Regions from separate parts of the Homo sapiens genome. Here region 1 is linked to region 2. The links are contacts of gene promoters, found by promoter capture Hi-C in human tissues and cell types (Jung and others, 2019). All regions are on one chromosome and are shown on one strand. Each heading gives the region's core, a stretch centred on a gene start or on the middle of the fragment in contact. The rest is flanking DNA. Distances are from core to core; before and after follow the strand shown.

Region 1 (4,204 bases), core at 723-3,222, 150 kb after region 2:
TCAAACAGCACAACTTAAACCTTTAAAAATTGGAGAGCAATAATAAAGGTAACTTCCTTCACAAAAATCTGTGTCTTATTTAACGTTTTATGCATTCTATTTTTGGGAGTCTTTTTATGCATTTTATGCATTTAACATTTTATGCATTCTATTTTTGAGAGTCTTTTCTCTTACTGAAGTTTAGTACAAGTACCTGGAGCCTAAATAATGTTAAACAATTGAAACTTCTTTATTTCATTTCAAATAGTGATGCAGGTGGCTTGAGTTGTTTAGAGATTTTCTAATCTCTTCTAAAGAAAATAGATTGGATTTTTAGCTGGCTAAGGCTCCTGAGACATTCATTACACATAGGGTGTTCTCTGATGAATTTTTTGAATCATCTTACTTTTATTTCATGTTGGAAAATCACTCTTCCAAGAGGCTGTTTGGGGGCCCCATGATCTTGATTCTGTCTGTCATAAATCAATTTTCAGTAATGCTATTGAGAAACCTTCACACATATCATGTTCCCCAATGTATAGAATACCTTATCAGAAAAAGAAAATTAATTGAGAAATATCCTACACATTGTCACAGTTGCATTGCTTAATAAGATGAGCCCCTTTCTCTGGAGAATCGGCAGCTTTCTGACATTCCCTGGTTTTATGCTACTTGAGTTAAATATATTGCTGGAAATGAAGCATAGCAATTTTATCAGGAAAATTACATCTCAAATAAAGAAATCTATTGTATTACATGTTGTTTTTGCTCTGTCTGTGCTACTTGATTTATATATAATTCTAACACAATATATACCACATTTGTGCTTAAGCAGTGTTAGTTGATCTTTATAAAAAAAATCAAGCTACATGGAACATAGAGGATCCTGGCAATACAAGTTTTCTGTGAAAAAAAAGTTTTCCTGTCCACATTACAAATTGAGTGACAACTTTTTCTATAGGATCGAATTTTTCAACAGAGGCTGTGAACTGTGCATTCAACAATAAACTATATACAAATATAAAACCTGCTTTCTTTTAGTAACTGAAACACTTTTCTTTGACATAAAAACACAAGCTCATTCTTTCTTGTCAGAGGTAAGAAAAATTAAGATAATCAGAAAATTTAGATATAGTGTTTGATTTATTCATTTATTTTCTGGCCTGACTCAAATTGTTATATTCACGGTCACTGTTTGGTTCAAGGTAACTTCAACAAGATGTCCCTTCTCTCTTCAACTATCTTTTTGCTCCTTTTCCTCCAGTTCCTAAATTTAATTTCACTGGCCTATCGAAATTTTTTTATATGGCAAAAGAGGTAGGGATTGGGATTATCTTATGTGAATAAGTGTTCTGTGTGGGCAACGCACGAGGGGAGAAGAAAAGACACAAACACAATACCTTTAAGGGTAAACAATCTTTATCCCATGTAAATGGCAATGCAGGTATAATAAGCAAATGATATAATAATATATAATAAATAGATTGATATAATAAGCAAATTGCAATGGGAAGGAGAGAAGGGAAAAGATATTTACACTCACCAGACTATGGAGGATTCACCACTAGACCGGGAAGCAACAGCCTGGGCTCCAGAGTCGGTCACTCGTCTGTTTACAGATGAGGAGAGGTGTCATGAAGCTTTGGCACAGTCTGGGACCCTATCTCTTTTTGTAACGAGTTGTTTGGCATGAGGTCCAGTTACGAGGGCCCTTTGTGACTGGGCTCAAGGAACACAAAAAGTCAACTTGTTTTTTGTGATTGTCTATTGTTTTTCAATAACTAACGTATAGGAATAGATTGAAATAGAGATTTCTCCAAAACAGCTCTGAATGAACACCTCAAGGTGTTCACACAACCTGTTCTGGGACTTGGTAACCATTGTTTGTGTCCATGTTCAATTGAGTTCAAATCTAATATTTAACTTTTCCTCCACATTAAGATAGTGCAGATGGTCACAGATCACTTCCTCTGTGTGATACAGGTGTTGTGTGATTGCTGATGTTAGTGATAGGTAAATCTTAGCTATTGTTTCCTCATATGACAACTAGAATTCTGGTGCTGAGCTGAGCTCCCCGTCAACCTCCTAGTGAGATATTGCCTCACATCTGTTATTATTAATAGAATAGTTACTATCAAAAGGACAAAAGATAAGTGTTGGCAAAATGTAAAGAAGCCAGAAGGCGTGTTCACTGTTGGTAGAAATGTAAATTGGTGCAGCCATGATGGAAAACAGTATGGAATTCTTCAAAAATTAAAAACAGAACTACCATACGGTCTAGCAGTCTCATTTCTGGTATACATCCAAGGGAAATAAAATCAGCATGTCAAAGAGATATCTGCACTTCATGTTTATTGAAGCACTATTCACAACAGTTGAGGTATGTAACCAACCTAAGTGCGTTGATAGATGATGAATGGATAAATATGGTATACACATACATACATATGCATATACATACATATATACATACGTATGTATGCATACATATGTATATACACACGTATGTAACATATGTATATACACACGTATGTAACATATGTATATACACACGTATGTAACATATGTATATACACACGTATGTAACATATGTATATACATACGTATGTAACATATGTATATACATACGTATGTATGTACACACGTATATACATATGTATGTATGTGTACATATGTATATACGTATGTATGTATGTGTATATATGTGTATATATGTATTTATATATACGTATATATGTATATATCCATATATACATATATGTGTATGTATACGTATATCCATATATACATATATGTGTATGTATACGTATATCCATATATACACATATGTGTGTGTATACGTATATACACATATGTGTGTGTATACGTATATACACATATGTGTGTGTATACGTATATACACATATGTGTATGTATACGTATATACATATATGTGTATGTATACGTATATACATATATATGTGTATATGTGTATGTATACGTATATACATATATACGTGTATGTGTATGTATACATATATACATATATACGTATATATACATATATACATATATACGTATATATACATATATACATATATACGTATATATACATATATACATATATGTGTATATATACATGTATATGTGTATATATACATATGTGTATATATACATATACATATATACATATATACATATATGTGTATATATACGTATACATATATACATATATACATATATACGCATATATACGTATACATATATACATATATACATATATACGCATATATACGTATACATATATGCGTATATATAAGCATATATATACGTATATACATATGTATGCGTGTGTGTATATACATATGTATGTATGCGTACATATGTATATACATATGTATATAGGTATGTGTGTATATACATACATATAATATATATTATATATACATTTATATATATACGTATGTATGTATGCGTATACCATATTTTCTTTATCCGTTCATCATCCATCAATGCACTGAGGTTGGTTTTATATATATATATATATATATATATATATATATATATATATACACAGTCACATGCCACATAATGATGTTTCTGTTAACAATGAACCGCGTATACAATGGTGGTCCCATTGGATCATAATGAAGCTGAAAAATTCCTATCGCCTAGGAACATCATAGTTGTCTTAACATCAGAACACAACATATTCCTCATGTGTTTGTGGTGAAGCTGACATAAACAACCTACTACAGGCCTACCAGTCATAAAAGGCATGTAACATACAATACATAACACTTAATAATGATAACAAATGAAATGTTACTTGTTTATTTATTGACCATACTATAACTTTTTGTTGTTGTTTTAGAGTATACTCCTTCTACTTAAAAAACAAGAAAAGATTAATGGTACAATGATCTCAGGCAGGTCCCTTGGTGGTATTCCAAAAGAAGGCATTGTTAGCATAGGACACCACAGCTCTATGCCTGTTATTGTCCCTGAAGAACTTCCAGGGAGACGAGCCCTGGAGGTGGAAGGCAGTGACACTGATGATCCTGACCGGTATTGGCCTAAGCTCGTGTGTATTTGTGTCTTAGTTTTTACCAAAAAAAGTTTAAAAAGTGAAAAAGAGAAATTTAAAATTTAAAAATAATGAAAAGTCTGTAAAATAGGGATATAAAGAAAGAAAAATATTCTTGCACAGCTGTAAAATATTTTTGTTTTAAGCTAAGTGTTTTTA
Region 2 (4,663 bases), core at 174-2,673:
AGACTTGGGGGAAAACCCAAGGCGATCCCACACCGGCTTTCTCGAGTCCCCGCGCGAGGATCACTGCCTTACCAATCCTTGTGTGATCTTTCTCTGGGTGGCACTTACCTGCTGCTCCCCGGGCTCCGCTGACTTCACCAGGTGCTTATCCTTGTACAGAGACCAGAGACCAACGTTAGGCAGGAAAATTAAAGCCACCGTGAACAACAAAGTCATCTGCAGAAATCTCTTCTGTTTCCTCTTCATTGCAAATGGTAACAGAGAAGAAAAGTTAAAGGAGATGGCTCCCTGACTGCTTCTTGTGTTTAATGTCAAATTCCTTTCCTCTCCCCTGCGAAGCACCAGAAACTGAGAAGCTACAAACTTTTGTTGCGTGCTCAGCACCAATCTGCAGGATTCAGAGGGAGTTGGCCATCTGCAGAACAAACGCACAGTTACTTTCCCCCCAGAAAACTATGACGAAGGCATTATCTATTGGCTTAGAAATAAATGACTTGACTAAAGAAATCATTAAGCCCATTGACCTCCATTAATATAAAGCAATAGAGTAAATATGGTCGTTTCATTGACTAAAGGTAAGTTATAAAAAAGTCAACAGCCTGCTAGATACTTAGGTAACTGGGAGTTTTTGTTGCTGTTGTTGTTGTTCGCCCCCCACCTCCTTAGTGTGGGAGGGCTGGGTCGGGGTGGAGCGGGTTAGGAGACAGAACTGAGAGGAACTGGCTCAACCCCTTCAAGTGTCAGGAAGAAAAGTGTCCGCTTTTGACATTGGAACAGCGTCACCTTCTTCGTCTTCCCTGAACATCTTTTCCTGTGCTCCCCTTGGGATAACCCACCTGAACTCAAGTTCAACTCCCTCCGGAGCCAGCTTGCCGGCGGGCTCCACCGGGATCCAGGGACTCGGGATCCGGGCAGAACTCCGGTTCGGATGGAGGTCCACGAAGTGCCGGACCCTCGCGCGCTGTCTACACGCTCCTCTGCAGGCAGCGGCTGGGAGCCCCGGGAACCTGGTGGAAAGGAGGCTACAGATGTCAGCGGAGTCCAGCCAGGAAGTGGTGGCGCCGCGACGTCCCTTCCTCGCGCGGTCCTCGGAATGCGATCCTCTGAGAAGTGAGCGCTCTGCCCATCAATCTCGTCCCTTCCCCCGGTGACGCTCTCACGCTCCGCTGTTCATGTTACCATTCTTTTCTGGCAACTGAACGAACCCACAGGACCATCACGAGCACCTAAAGGGCAATATTTTTTGATCTCCTCTTCTCGTAAAGGGGATGGAGGCGGAGAAACCGAAGTCTGTGCTGGGCTTGGAAGCGGACGAGGGCGCTGCGAGGAGGAGCGGAAGGCGGAGATGCGCCGCGGCTGCACACGGTCGCCCGCGCCCCACTCCCCGGCGCCTGCCTTCCGCGGAGACGTCGCTGGTGTCTGCCACGTGCGGCAGCCCGGAGCCCAGGAGGGGAGGGCGGGCCGCCTGGCGGGGGTGGGCAATGCCTCCCGGCCTCCAGACGCTATATAAACAGACCCGGACGCGAGGCAGCGGCGGAGGGCGAGCGTGACGCTGGAGGAGGAGTGGGAGCTCCCAGCCTGCGCGGGTCCTCTCTTTACCTGCCAGGGCTTTTCCGGGTAATCTGGGACCGACAGGGATGCCAGCACCCCGTCATCTCACCCAAAGGGCGCCAGGCCAGAGATTCCTGGGGAAAAGTCGCCGGCTGCAGGCGGTTGTCCCAGGAATTCCTCCATGGTGCCGGCGGGAGCGCGGCGAGCCGGGGCGCGGCGGCTGCGGGAGGTGGAGGCGACCCGGGACAGGGCCGGTCCCAGGGAGAGGGGATCCCCCGAGCCGCGCGTTCCGCCGTTCAGGCCAGGTAGGGGGTGGGGAAGGAGGAGGAAGAGGATCCCGAAGCAAGACAGAGCTGAGGCTCAGAGTTCTCAGGCAGCAGCTTCTGGAGGACACCGTGGAGACCCAAGGCGGCTTTATTTGGGTCTGCAAACACCCGGGGCCCCGGTTAAGATTCGGCAGGGCCACCCCGCTCCTCCCCCGCCTTGCACGACCGCACTCCGCGCGCCTTGTCACTGCGAGGGCTACCTGTCCTCGCACACTCCTCCGCGATGGCCAGAAAACGTGGGACTCGAGATAAGACTCTGGCAGATGGTACTCCTCCCTCCGCCTAACGTATCAATGCACCAACGCCCCTGACCGCACACTCAGGAACCTGTGGCAGCCTCGCCAAGGGACAGCGTGCCCAGCACCGTGCACTGGGCACTCTTGGATCTGGAGCTCACAACTCCGGAAGGAATGGGGACTTAGATGAGGTGACAGACATGCATGCATGCAATGCAGGCTGAATCCGCCTGTCTGGAGCCAAAAATAAACGCCATGGTCACCTCTTTGTTACAACCTGGATATGATGCCCACATGCGTGGGGTAGACATGCTTGGGATAGATAAGCCTGTGGACTTCAGACGGTATTTTCTCTTTCCCTTTTTTCTTCTTTCTCGTCCTCATCTCTGTCCCTCCCTCCTTTTCTTCTCGCCCTATCTCTTCCTCCCTTTCTACTCTCTCTAGTGTCTCACTTGAGAAAGACCTAGATTTGAGTGGGAAGAGTTATGCCTTAAACTGTTCTCATTATAAATTCAAAATGTACTTGAAGAATACAGATCGACTGTATGATGGCATGAATAAAGCGCTATGCTGTAATATTTGTTTTTGTGAATCACTTGAATTTTAAAATAGTCTAAAAATATATTTAATAAATGTTGTTGAATGTGTCCTTTATATAAAGACCAATTACCTTTAGATTTTATATAAATGCAACTTAATCTAGAGTGCAAGGGACTTAATTCCTCACCCCCACCCCCACACATACACTATGCCTTTTGTAGTCTGCGTTATTTTCTAACCTTTTTCTCTCTAAGGAAGTGCAGTTTTGAAACACAGAAATGTGAATTCTGGGAAGCAACATAGCAGGGAGAGGTTTCCTGGGAATATTGTCAGGTGCTCAAGGAAATAAATTTGGAGAATCATTTAATTATATTGGATATATTTTTAAGTACTGATACAGTTATTAATTTTCAAAGTAAAATAACTCAAAAGTGCACTTGGAATTAAAAAAGTAAAATCTCTCACATTTTAAACAATACCTGTTTTTTAATACCTTAAAAAATAGTCTTGGATCAGGAATAGACATACTAGCATTCTATTTGTTGAATCCAGGGTGTTGAGTTGAAACATGCTTCACTGTTGTTAAACTAGCAAATGGTCTTGCATACAGCACCCATTCAGAGAAAATCGTTAATTACTATTACTTCCCCAATCAAGTACACGCAGAATACATGGTAGAAACTGAAAGGAGAAAATTACTATGTTTACTTCTGTTTTATAGCATAGTTCCAGACCATAACTTTAGCTTTTTCTCCTTTTCTGTATAATTTATTTATTTATTTTTGATTCAGAGCATAATTTCTCTTTTCCCTTCAGTCTGGTATTCTTTCACAATTCCTCATGTAAATTACCAACAGATGACAATGTGTCTAGCTAAAATGGGTATTTTAGGTTGAGTTTACAAACAAAAAACTTCAGACGACAGTTAATTTTTTTGCTCAGATAATCCAGATTAAATGCCAATATAAATGTGTGTGGATGTTGTATGTATATATGTGTATATCATATATATTATATATAATATATATTATATGTATAATATATGTGTATATTATATATAGAATACACATGGACATGGTCTTCTACATTTTGACTTACATAGAAAGTCACCCATTCTATGCCCTATTTGCACTTCCATTCTGTTAGGATTCAACTGGCAACCTCAGATTATCAGAGTCCCATGCTGCTAATAATGTACTAATAACTATAGGGACACATTGGAAAGAAAACAGCAATATTCAGTGACCTTGAATAACTTACACTCTAGTTGAAAATGCAACATAAAGACAATAGAAATAAATTACCAAAGGTGCTTGGTACTAACCTTAAATTGAGCCAAATTTAAGCCCTATATTTAAGGAAGCAGAAGGTTATTGCTTTAGTTATCTCTCTACTTCAAAATGTAGCGACTTAAAACAAATTATTTTGCTATCTCTCTTATGATTCTGTGCATTGAATAGGCTCAGCTGGGTGGTTACACTTCCTGTGACGCAGGCTGAGGCCGAGGAGGTTGAATGGGCTGAGCCAAGATGGCTACTTTACATGGCTGACAGTTGGCAGTGACTGTCAGCTGGGGGGTCATGGGGCTGTCAACTGGAGTGCCTCAGCTTCCCTCCATATGGCCCCTGCATGTGGCCTGAGCTTCTCATACCATGGTAGCTAGTATCCAAGAGAGAGCAACCCAAGAACCTGTGTTCCAAGAGGGAGAAAACAAAAACTGTCAAGTCCTCTTAAAAGCTAAGTCCGGAACTGGCACAGCCTCTCTTAGGGAGCAGACACTGGACAAGCCCAGATTCAAGGATGAGGTGGAGGTAGGGGATAAAATGAACATCTCACTGAAAAGTTTGACGGAGAATGTGTGGCCATTCTTAATCCACTTTAGATATTCAAAGGCACAGAAGTAGGGAGTTATAAAGAAGGCCTAACTAGATTAGAAACCAGATGAGGGGAGCAGTAGGGAAAGGTTTTCATATATTGGGTTCAGTAGAATAGTTCAATTGCTACAAAGAT

What was found. The method cuts DNA at HindIII sites, captures the fragments that hold promoters and counts their contacts. A contact is called where the count stands out against the background at its distance.
Region 1: a contact is called between a fragment that was not itself captured here and the fragment with the promoter of GALNTL6 in region 2, in 1 of the 25 tissues and cell types used here (lymphoblastoid cells).

Annotation. Positions count from the first base shown.
Region 1 is chr4:171,656,263-171,660,466 of GRCh38, reverse strand. No RefSeq gene overlaps it. Among named protein-coding and RNA genes, the nearest start is that of LINC02174, 20 kb to the right of the region's middle. The HindIII fragment of the contact is 5,131 bases long and covers 1-4,204 here.
Region 2 is chr4:171,810,164-171,814,826 of GRCh38, reverse strand. GALNTL6 (polypeptide N-acetylgalactosaminyltransferase like 6) reads right to left here and starts at 1,423. Exons shown (of 13, transcript NM_001034845.3): 1 at 837-1,423; 2 at 109-415. The coding sequence starts at 246. It overlaps LOC441052 (a long non-coding RNA gene), which reads left to right and starts at 1,220. Exons shown (of 1, transcript NR_134656.1): 1 at 1,220-2,689. RefSeq lists an enhancer at 1,063-1,212 and a silencer at 1,453-1,502. The HindIII fragment of the contact is 16,056 bases long and covers 1-4,663 here.